Linked DNA regions of Homo sapiens: region 1 is linked to region 2. Evidence: promoter capture Hi-C in 16 types of primary human blood cells and fetal thymus (Javierre and others, 2016). All regions are on one chromosome and are shown on one strand. Each heading gives the region's core, a stretch centred on a gene start or on the middle of the fragment in contact. The rest is flanking DNA. Distances are from core to core; before and after follow the strand shown.

Region 1 (6,829 bases), core at 4,243-6,742, 410 kb after region 2:
TGGAGGCTTCTAACCCACTCCAATCTGAACTGCTAGCCCTCTATCCCCTTCTTTTTATTGTCATTCTGAAGGATCTTTCTGCTTTATTGACTTTCCTGTCTCTTGTAATTCATTTCTTTCATTTGGCTGACTTTTTCATTTGATGGATCACATCCTCCAACAGATTCCTTAGAAAGTGTATAAGACAGGCAGATTGTTTTTGAAAATGTATACATCTAATTCTATTCTTATATTTGAATAATAGTATCAATGCATATGGAATTCAGAGATTGAAAATTATTTTCCTTCAGAATACTGAAGATGCTGCTTTATTTTTCAGTTTCCAATGCTACGACTGAGAAGTGCAAAGCCAACTCATTCCCTCCCACCCCCCAGAAGCATGAACGATCTGTTTGGCTCCAGTGATTTCAAATTTCACCACAATGTGCCTTAGTTTGGATCTATTTTCATCCATTGTACTAAGCACAAAGTGAGCCTTTTCAATCAGGAAACTTTATGCTCTTCAGTTAAGAAAATTATCTTGAATCATCTTGATGATTTCTTTTCCATTTTCTCTGGTGTTTCTTTTGACAACTATTATTTGAATACTGAAATTCCTGGACTGATCCTGTGATTTTTCTTAACACTCCTCCTTCGTTTCTTATTTTTGTCCTTTTGCTCTATTTTTTCAGAGTTTCTTTCAGCACATTAGTCTCTGATAATTCTACGAAGCTTTTGGTTTTTACTATCAGAATTTCAATGCCTAAGAGCCTTTTTTAAAGTCATAATATCACTCTTTTATGTACTTCTTTCTTGTTTCATGGTTATTTTCTCTTATTTCTGGGGATAATAGTTCTATAATTTTCCTCTGCAAAAATGTATGTCTCTCCAAGTTGTTTTATTCCATTTAACTTCTATCTTTCATACATTTAGAGAGTTTCTTCAAATATCTACTCATCTTTGTTAGCTGCTCATATTTAAGGGCAGGGGACTGAAAAGCTGATTTGGAGCTTTGATACATGGAGTGAGCTAACTGGCCTGTTTATTTCAGGAATCTCTGATGACTAAATTTCCTCTTTCTTCTTTTATCTTCCTTTTTTTGGTCAGATTCTCCAGAAAAGACTTTTTTTTTCCAACCTCCTGCCTGAAATCTGAAGGTCTAACTGCCAGTATTCTGGGAGCCCAGTAGGAGAAAACAGGAGAGAGATATCTAAGGTCCAATTCTCCCATTTTTAGCATGGGACTTCTGCCCTCAACTATGCCTGGTGTCTCCCAGGCTACAGTGTTTCTGGTTTTCCCCACTCCTAAGGATAAATTTTGCTTTTGGTTAGGGGTGAGGAGTTCAGCATTTGCCCAGCTGACTGGTTAGGTGGTTTTGGGGAGGAAGTTCCAGAAACCCAATGCTTCTTCATCTGACTTTCAACCAATTGTCACTGCATCTCCATTTCCACACACTGCCATTCTCAAGCTTTTTGAGACCTCTCGAGGTTGTTTTGTTGATTTCCTCTGCTACTGTTGGAGTTCAGTTTTCAATTATTCATATACTCTCCAGTTTCTAAAACTGTGTTGATACTTTCTCCTTCCAATCCTTCTTTACTGATCTTTCAGTGGGTTTCTCGAGGTAACAAACGTTTTATACTCATCCCATCTTTTACTCCTAATACTATTTCTCATTCATTTCAACTCATTATTGATAGTTTTTTATAATTTTCTTTCTGGCCAGGCGCGGTGGCTCACACCTGTAATCCTAGCACTTTGGGAGGGTGAGGTGAATGGATCACTTGAGGTCAGAAGTTCCGAGACCAGCCTGGCCAATATGGTGAAAACTCATCTCCACTAAAAATACAAAAAAAGCCGGGCCTGTAATCCCATCTACCCAGGAGGCTGAGGCAGGAGAATCGCTTGAACCCGGGAGGCGGAGGTTGCAGTGAGCCAAGATCAAGCCATTGCACTCTGCACTCCAGCCTAGGCGACAAAGCAAGATTCCATATAAAAAAATATATATATTTCTTTTGAATAAAGAGATATTACAAATAAAATCTCTAAAAAGTTAAGAAACATGCTTTTACTATCAATTAACTCTAACAATGATACAATTCCTGGTGACTTCAAATTGAGATCACGTAGTTGTCCTCTGGATCACAGAAATCCCTGGTTTTGTTGTTTGAAGTTTTAGCTTTGTTAATAAAATTCAATTACGCTCATTGATTTGAAAAATATTTTAACTGACAAAGCTCAGAGTAAATTAGATAAGTGATTTCAAACATCTATATTTGATACTTAATAAAATTTGACATTTAATAATTACAATTTTAGTAGTAATTTGTACTAATTTTATTTTTAGAGTTTTACATAATCTCATTTTTATATCAAAATATGTTTACAGGGAAAATAAGAGTGAATAAGATAAATTCCAGACATAGTCATAATACATGCTTATTACTTAAGTATGATTAAGTATTAGCATAAGTTAAAATTTTCAACTCATATTATTCCTCTTTTTAATCTGCAACAAACAGTTTTATAAAAATAGTACAGCTCTAAAAACTGGGAAGAGCAAACTTGGAGAAAAAGAGGGACACGATTATAGAATAAATAAATCTGAAGCTTTTACAGGATTAAAAACTGCACATCTGTAAATCTCAGCTTTATTTTATTTTATGCTATTAAAGATTCTTTGAAAACCAAACTCAATAAATGATTGTCTGAAATTTTATAATCTATTTTTCATCATTTTGGGTTCTCAACTCATTCTCTTTCAGATCATTCATTCACCATTTATTTAGTGACTACTATATACTATGTACTTATTATTGGCACATAAGGATACAGCAGTGAACAAAGCATAAAAATCACTGCTATCACGCAACATCCATTCTAGTTTTGAACAGAGAAAATAAACAGAATAAATAGGAAGGTGGTAAGTACTATAAAGAAAAAGGAATAGAGAGCTGGTGGTCATGCAATGTTAAATAAGTTAGAAAAGGTCTAACTGGGTATTTCACTGACTCAGAATGTTTTTACCTAGTTTTGAAGTTGTCCCTTCAAAAATTAATCAAAGGCCTATGATAATAAATTTTAAATAGAAAAGAAAAATAAGTAGGAAGATCCTAATATAGCAATTACCAACAAAAACCATTTCTTCTGAGACAGCTAAGACAACAAATACTATATTGATGAAATTTAAAAAGCCAGTGTGTGATGATACTCCAACAAATGTTGGTGTTGAAAATTCACTTTTGGATCCATTCCAAAAGTGATATCCAGATATATACCATAATGCTTCAAAATTACTTAAAAGTTAATATCATTTAAAAAAACAGGCACAAGACAATATTTAATTTTCATATATCTTGAATAAATAATATATAGATTTTTACATCATATCATTTAAATCCTAAATGAGAAACTAGAATATCTAAACTATACCATGGCAATATCCTAGTCTCCAAATTAAGTACTAGAAAGAAATATCTATCGTTATTTTTTGAAATTTAATAATCAATCTGATGAAAATTTACCTTGCCCAGAGCGGCTTTGGCGAGAGTCTACACTTGACTGTCTTCGATCCGGTGGTTCCTCGCTCCCTCCATCTGCATAAAATTAAAAGGAGCATAAGCAAATAGATAATGAGATTGACATAACAGTGTCTCTGACATTATCTACATTTAAAACTACTATATCGATCATTTATTTGTATTTCCTATAATCCGGATCATTAAAATATTTGAGGATTTTTCTTATATAAACCAATGGTTCTTACCCTGATTTTTGTGGGTTTACACTCCCCTCTTGAAGTCTTAAGAAAGTGTAGGTGTTTTTCCCCTCCCCCATATGTATATACTCTACTTTGCATATAATGAAGGAAAGTTATCAACACCAAAGTTCAGTCACAGAATTCCAGTTAAGAAGGCCTGATTTAAAACAATCTTTTAAATTAATTACAGCTGCTTTTTCTGTCTAAAGTACAACAGCACATCAAATAATCCCTAGTACTGTTTTACTATAATAAGAATTACATTCGTATGTTTTATGAAATAAAAATCAATAAACCTATAAAATAAATCAATAAAAGCTAAAAACCAAATAAATCTTGAGTTTATTTTACCATGATTTTTAAAATTATATAGAAACAAATCCATTTCATTGTATACATCTTCTTTTAAGAAATAACCAAAACAGTATATTCCCTCATGCATGTTAAGAAAAGCTAAAACAAATTTTACTTTATTGTAAATAATTGCCTCAATTTTGTTATATAGAAACAGAAAAATTATGCATCATAAATTCATTAAAATAGGCACAGTAAAACAGAAATTAATATATTAAGAATGTAAAGTATAATATAAAATATGAAACTAAACCAAGCAAAATCTTTAACATAGTGGTCTATACACCTATAAATTTGTTATCACTTTAATCAGATGAAAAATGCATTAAGGCATCAAACAATTTCCTTTGTTCGTTCTTTCATACAATCACTTGTCTTATTTTTAACTTGACAGGGAAAAGGGGTAGTAGCTGCAAGCAGGTTTAATAAAGAGTATTCTTGCTCTGTCATCTACTTATTCTATGGTTTATTGTTTTTAATAGAGCTCGTGTAGTAACATCTATTGCTTTTTAAACAGAATGGCCTGTTTTTTAATTCATTATTGATATAAAGCTTCCTTTTAAGTATATTTATTATATGTAAGGCCTAGCAATAATTAAATCCAATTCATGTATATATATCAACTATTCTCTATTTTGTAGAGGGCTGTTAAACTAGCAAGTACAGTAACATTTAATCAATCGATTCCAAATATACGACGACAATACAAAATAATAAGTACATTGCCAGGAAATATTCATATCTCTTAGTCCACAGTAATCTAGTAAAACACTCCACTAATTTAGTCAGATTTGTAAAATAACTTATCACATAGAAAGATACTCAAAGTGATAGGCAACCATATTTTTTCCTCCAGTATGAAAATACTTTTTAAATATAAATCAGTTTATTTTAGTTCTGCTGTTACTATATAAGTTACCACATTTGAATAAAAATAGACATGTTGACAAAATAAGGTGTTATCTGAAAGACAAATATAAGAAATTTTTCTTTGACATTATTTTTAAAAATTAAAGCAAAAATCTACTCATGGATTATCATCTCTGAATGGCTGATCTGCCTCTGTTGAAATTAAAACTTAAATTCTTTAATTTTGTCCTTTTAAAGGAAATGTGAACATTTACAATCCTTCTTAACTGTATATCAAATTCTAAGTAAACAACTCTATAAATATGGATTCTTTTTAATAAGGCTCAGTATTTCAACTGGGCCAACTCAAATTTAATTTCTAAGTTTTAAACCCTCTAGGATTCCTTCTACCTCACTCTCTTGTGAATTAATATTCAATATGTCCAAAAATCCTAAAGTTTTCTCTTCTTTCTAAAATGTATTTAAGAACAGAAAGGCAGCCAATAATTACTATGTACTCTCTGCCAGGTATTTTACATAGTTCATCAAAGCCCTATGAAGTAAAGACCTATTTCACAGCTGAGAACACTGAAACTCATGGTGACTAACTGAAATCCAATGACAAAACCAGTAAAAATGAAACTGGATTTTAACCCAAGGATGTTTGACTCAATACATCTCTCTGATACTAATTTCTACCCAAATTTATTAAATATTTTGAGTTCAATTCATGTTCCCGTTTTATTCTTTTCTCATAAAAACGATGTTAAAAAAGCACTAATCAGTAACTATAGCAATTATTCCTTTACAGAATAGAGGCATTCTAACAAAGCAGGTTATGAAGACTTAGTCTTACAATATAACCTTCCTATGTGCTTCCAATATAAAATCAAAAGATATATTCTCTAAAGAAAAAAAAATGTTTTTCCCAAAAGCCATGTTTGGTGTCTCTGTCTATTCATTCTACTAAAAGAGAGCTTCTCTTGACAATCAACTGGCCACAACCAAAATAAAGTACCTCAGTAGGAATTCTGGTACACTGCCAACCCTATAACCCTCCCTCTCCAGGTCTATATTACTGCTCCTTTCTAATGAAGACCACTATTTAAGAAATTCTAGGGCTGAGCAAAATGATTCACACCTGTAATCCCAGCACTTTGGGAGCCCAAGGTGGGAGGATCGCTTGAGGCCAGGAATTTGAGGTTACAATGAGCTATGCTATGATCACACCACCACACTCCAATTAGGTGACAAGGGGAGACCTTGACTCTTTAAAAAAAAAAATTCTACACTCTATTAAGAAAATTTGGCACCTGACATTCTGTATACCCATGCTTAGGTAACTAAAGTCCCTATCATGCATCTATTCCCCACATCTATGAAATCTATCACAGCAAGCTTAGGTATACATGCTTTACAAGGAATTCAAGAAAAAAGCTGCTCTAACAAGAAAAGAAGTAAGTAAAAGTAGTTCTTTCTAAATGCTTACAGTGTGAAAATACGATACATTTTCTTTTTAGTGAAAAGGTCAATGCTCATGACACTGATATATGAATTACTCTTATCAAATCAACCACTTGAGATGGAAACATTTTTAACTCACCTATAGTGAGGCACAATGTTAACCTGCATGTGCTGTCATAGAAATTACATTGTGAGAAACAACTAAGAACCCTGACCTGCTTAATGTTTTTTAAAAAAATCTTTAAACACATTTACCTAGAATAATTTGCATTTTAAAAAGATACCCCTTATAGTAGTGTAGAGACTAGGGTGGTGGTTTTCGATACTGGATGAACAAACACATGTGGTTCTACTCTAATAAAATTTTCTTTATGGACACTAAAATTTTCATTTCATATAATTTATATGTCACAAAATATTATTATC
Region 2 (4,133 bases), core at 389-2,888:
CAGTCTTTCTCAACCTTTTCTCTCTCTCTTTTTTTTGGGGGGAGGTCTCACTCTGTCACGCAGGCTGGGGTGCAGTAGTGCAATCACAGCTCACTGTAGCCTTGACCTCCTGGGCTCAGGTGATCCTTCCCCCTCAGTTTCAAGAGTAGCTGGGACTGTAGGTGCACGCACCACCAAGCCCAGCTATTTTTTTTTTGTAGAGACGAGGTTTTGCCATGTTGGCCAGGCTGGTCTTGAACTCCTGGGCTCAAGCGATGCGCCCACCTCAGCCTCCCAAAGTGCTGGGATTACAGGCTTGAGCCACCACGCCCAGCCCTTCTCAACTCTTCCAAAGAAGCTCATAAACCAGCCTAGGGAGAAGTGTATTTGAATTTGGCTTCCTACTCCAGAATGCTTCCTTTAACAGAAAGTAACTCCCCACCCCATCTCCAAGAAAAATCAATGCTCAGAAAGCCATTCTGTGCTTACCTGGGCTTTCCCTTCTGTCAGGGCCCATGTGGATCCCAGGGTTCCTCCCTCCCTGATGGGCTGCTCTCCCCCGACCCCCACGATGGGGCACTAGGAGGCCGCCCCCGAGCTCTGCCTCAGCCCTCAGCCCACCTGCTGCCGCTTAGCCAGGGGCAGGTTGGCAGAGCCCAGGGTGCGCACAGCTCCGATGATCCTGCGCAGCTGCGGGTCCGTGAAGTTCTGCCAGATCGGTTCATACAGCTCCTTGGCCTTCTGGCCCCAGGCCTCCGCAAACTCCTGGCTGAGCAGGGCTGCTTCCTCCTATTGGGCACCAGGAGGGCAGGGAGGGTGTAGGACCCTGCTTAGATGCAGGCCATAAAGGAGAAGCCACGGTGCTGGGGGAGGGGAGGAAGGCCAAGGGCTTCCAGAGCCCGGGCCCTGGGGAGATCCCTGCGGGAGACCTTAGTTTGCGGAAGCCGCGCTTCCTCCTTCTGGAGGGAATCTGCCTCATGGGAATGGTGGAGCAGAAATTGGGACCAGAAAAGAGGCCGGGCGAGTGGAGGGTGGATGGACAGTGCAGTGCGGTGACGGTGACAGCGACAGCGTCCGGAGGTGAGAAGGCAGCTGCCCGAGAGCGCGGGGGCCCCAGAGCCAAGCCCAGCACCTTCGGCGAAGGCGGGCGCGGCCTGGGAGCAGCCACCCTCATCCATCCAACTCGTGCATGCTGGGAGCGCAGGCCGTGCGCGCAGCCCGGCGCTCGGGCCCCGCGGCTGACTGTCGGGGCGAGGGTCCGGGGTCGGGGTGGGGTTCGGGTCGGGGGCGCCAGCCTGCCCGCCCCACAAGCCGGCCGCGTGCTGTGATTGGCCGCCGCGGCCCCGCCCCGCCCCCGCCCGGGCCCGGGCGCCCACCTGGCGCCTTGCATTCTCCGCGGTGATGTTGGTGTCGTGCGCCCAGCTGGCGGCCACGCTCTGGAACAGCACCTGTTCGGCGCTGGAGTTGTAGCTCTGCGCGAAGAGCTGCGCCCCGGCCTCGTCAGCAGAAAAGTTGCCGGGCTGCAGCCCGGGGTCCAACGCCAGGGCGGGCTGCGGCGGCAGCAGCAACAGCAGCGGCAGCGGCAGCAGCAGCCCCGGCCCCCGGCGGCCCGAGGCGGCCCCCATGACGCGGTGCGCGGTGCTCGGCTCTGCCCCTTCTCCTGCGCCGCGGCCGCCCTGCGGGTTATAAAACCCGACACACCCCCGCCCCCGCCCCGCCGCGCTTCCTCCTCCGCTCCAGAGTCCCCAGCGGCGCGGGCCGAGGTTCCTGGCCCGCCCCGGGCAGGGGCGCGGGCCGGGGAGGGGCCGAGGTGCAGCCCGGGGGTGGCGGGATGGGGCTGGGTCGGGCTCCCGCAGAGGAAGCTGGAGAAAGGGCCTCCTCTCTTTAGAAGATGGGGACCCGGCAGTTTGCCGGAACACCCGAGCCTGCCCACCGTGCGGCCGCGCAGCCTCGGCCGGGGCCTGGGAGCCTAGCGGCCTCCGGCTCGATCTTCCCAGCCCGACCCCCCGGAGCCTCCCGCCTCCGGAGTGACAAGGCCGGGGCCCCAGGAGCTGTCCGCAGGCGCCGCTCGTGCGGCGGGGATGGGGCTGATCGGGCCTGGCCGGCTTCTTCACCAGGCCATGGTCGAGGGGCGGGGACGTCGCCTGCCGGGGGTAGGGGTGTGGCGGGGGGGAGAGGAGGGAGGCGGGGACCTTAGGTGTCTTGCAGGCGCCTCCGGGAGGTGCTGGAGGGGCTCAGGGCGGCCGGCACACCTGGGGCTTGGGGCTGCGAGGGAGGGGGAGCCACAGAGCGCAGGAGCTTTGGAGCGCCTGCCCTCTTTCCCCCCGAGGACACAGGCTGCCAGTCGCTCAGCAGAAAACATCACACACGATCCCAACAGAGTCCTAGAACCCGAGGCTAGCAGGCTTTGAGAGCGACACAAAGCCTCAGAGATGAGAACAACCCCCTCATTTTACAGATGAAGAAATTGCCGCTCAGGTTGAGAGGCTTGCTCCAAGTCACCTCAGGTCTCCACACTCCCCTGTGTTTTCCTGTCTCATCCACGTGTCCCTCAAAGTGACAAGTGTGGGGGAGGGAGGACAGTCTTGTCCTATTGGCGCACAGGGCGGTTGTGGAGGCCACCTCGGCACCATGGCGTCTGCTGCCAGAGGGGGGAAGCCCCTTGACCCTGGCAGAGGCCCGGCGGCGCAGTGGGAGGTGGGGCAATGGAGGAACCGTGGGGTGAGGCTGGGCGGTGGGATCAGGGAAGGAGCCAGGGACAGCTGCTCCCAAGACCCCAACCCATTAGGCTGCTGGGGGCTGTTGGGAATCACTTGGGCTTCTGGGTGAGTGGGGGATGGTGTCTGGGGCTCTGAGGGACACGTGCACCTTGCTGTGCAGCATGGAGTGTGTGCAGGAGGCTGTGACCCCGCGTTCCTGTGAGATGCACCTCCAGTGAGATCGCACTGACTTGTCAGATGACGTGTTGCAGGGGAGAGGGGGCGGTGGGGAGAGGAAGAAGGTGGCTGTCCCTAGCACTAGAGGGAGAAGGCAGGGCCTTGTTAAACACTGGCCGGCAGTGGGGCCGGGAGAGGAGAGCTGGGGTCAGGCCTGGCCCTGGCCCGCTTTGCCAGCCTCCCTCCTGACCTGCAGTTTTCCCTCACAACTCCTCCCTGCCCAGTTTGGCTTGGAGAGCCAGTGGATACCAGAGGACATGGGTGCACTTCTGGGCCGGCTACGTTGGTGGACGTTTGTGATCAGAGCAGCCCCATCGAAGGCCAGGGGCCAGGGAGGGCAAGGTGGTGGCCTGGGCTCTCCTCCCAGGAGCCACCCTGCTCTCAGGGGTCCTAACAGCTTGGCCTTCCAGGCTTTGAGGGCTGTGGGTGTCTGTGTGCAAATGAGCTGCTGTCTCCTGGGAGGAAGCAGTCTTTCTGTGGAAAGAGGCTTGGGTGGGGAAGAGATGAGAGTGGGGCTCTGTCAGCCTCTGAAGGAGGGGCCAAGGGAGGAGAGATGAGTAGAGAGGAGAAGAGCCTGAGGCCTAACCTGTATCCAGAGGCCCTCAGCCAGAGGCTGGCCTCGCCTCCAAAGAGTTCCTGAGAACCCTCTTCAGGAGGGTGGAGGGCGGGCATTGCTTCTGCTGGTTCATTCTCCCGTCTGACTCCAAGGCATTTCCACAATGTCTATAGACCCTGGGTTAGGGACTGTGTCAGCAATAAACAGCCTCCGCCTCCACTTCCGACAGGGTTGGAAGATAATGGAAGTCTTCCCCTGGACCTGGAGCAGCTGACACCAGGGCTGCTGGAGGCATCACCCTGCACCTCCCTCACTGTAACGCTTTATTAGAATGGCTTGTTAAATCCCCCAGCTTCATCACTAAATTGTATGTTACTGGAGGGCAGGGATGGCGTCTGCCTTGTTCTCTGTGGTTTTCTCAGAGTTTAGCATGGTGCCTAGCACAGGGCAAAACCTCATCGAAGGAAGGGTGCAGAGGAAAGAGGAAATGACCCACACTCGTATTCACACTCCGGGGGGTGAGCACACAGCCTTTTGCAGGAATAATATAAGAAGAGCCAGACTTCATTAATTTGGAATTTGCAATAATACAGACACTGCAACCTTGAGCCCAGTGAGTAAAAATTAAAAATATCTTCTATTTTTAGGGTCTTATTCATGAA

Evidence for each region. The method cuts DNA at HindIII sites, captures the fragments that hold promoters and counts their contacts. A CHiCAGO score of 5 or more calls a contact.
Region 1: a contact is called between a fragment that was not itself captured here and the fragment with the promoter of ACE in region 2, in 1 of 17 cell types (naive B cells). The highest score is 5.6, in naive B cells.

The regions. Positions count from the first base shown.
Region 1 is chr17:63,070,686-63,077,514 of GRCh38, reverse strand. TANC2 (tetratricopeptide repeat, ankyrin repeat and coiled-coil containing 2) reads right to left here. Exons shown (of 28, transcript NM_001394998.1): 3 at 3,501-3,572. Among named protein-coding and RNA genes, the nearest start is that of TANC2, 110 kb to the right of the region's middle. The HindIII fragment of the contact is 1,695 bases long and covers 4,645-6,339 here.
Region 2 is chr17:63,474,566-63,478,698 of GRCh38, reverse strand. It overlaps ACE (angiotensin I converting enzyme), which reads right to left and starts at 1,638. Exons shown (of 25, transcript NM_000789.4): 1 at 1,356-1,638; 2 at 601-768. The coding sequence starts at 1,604. RefSeq lists silencers at 1,129-1,188, 1,289-1,378. The HindIII fragment of the contact is 10,215 bases long and covers 1-4,133 here.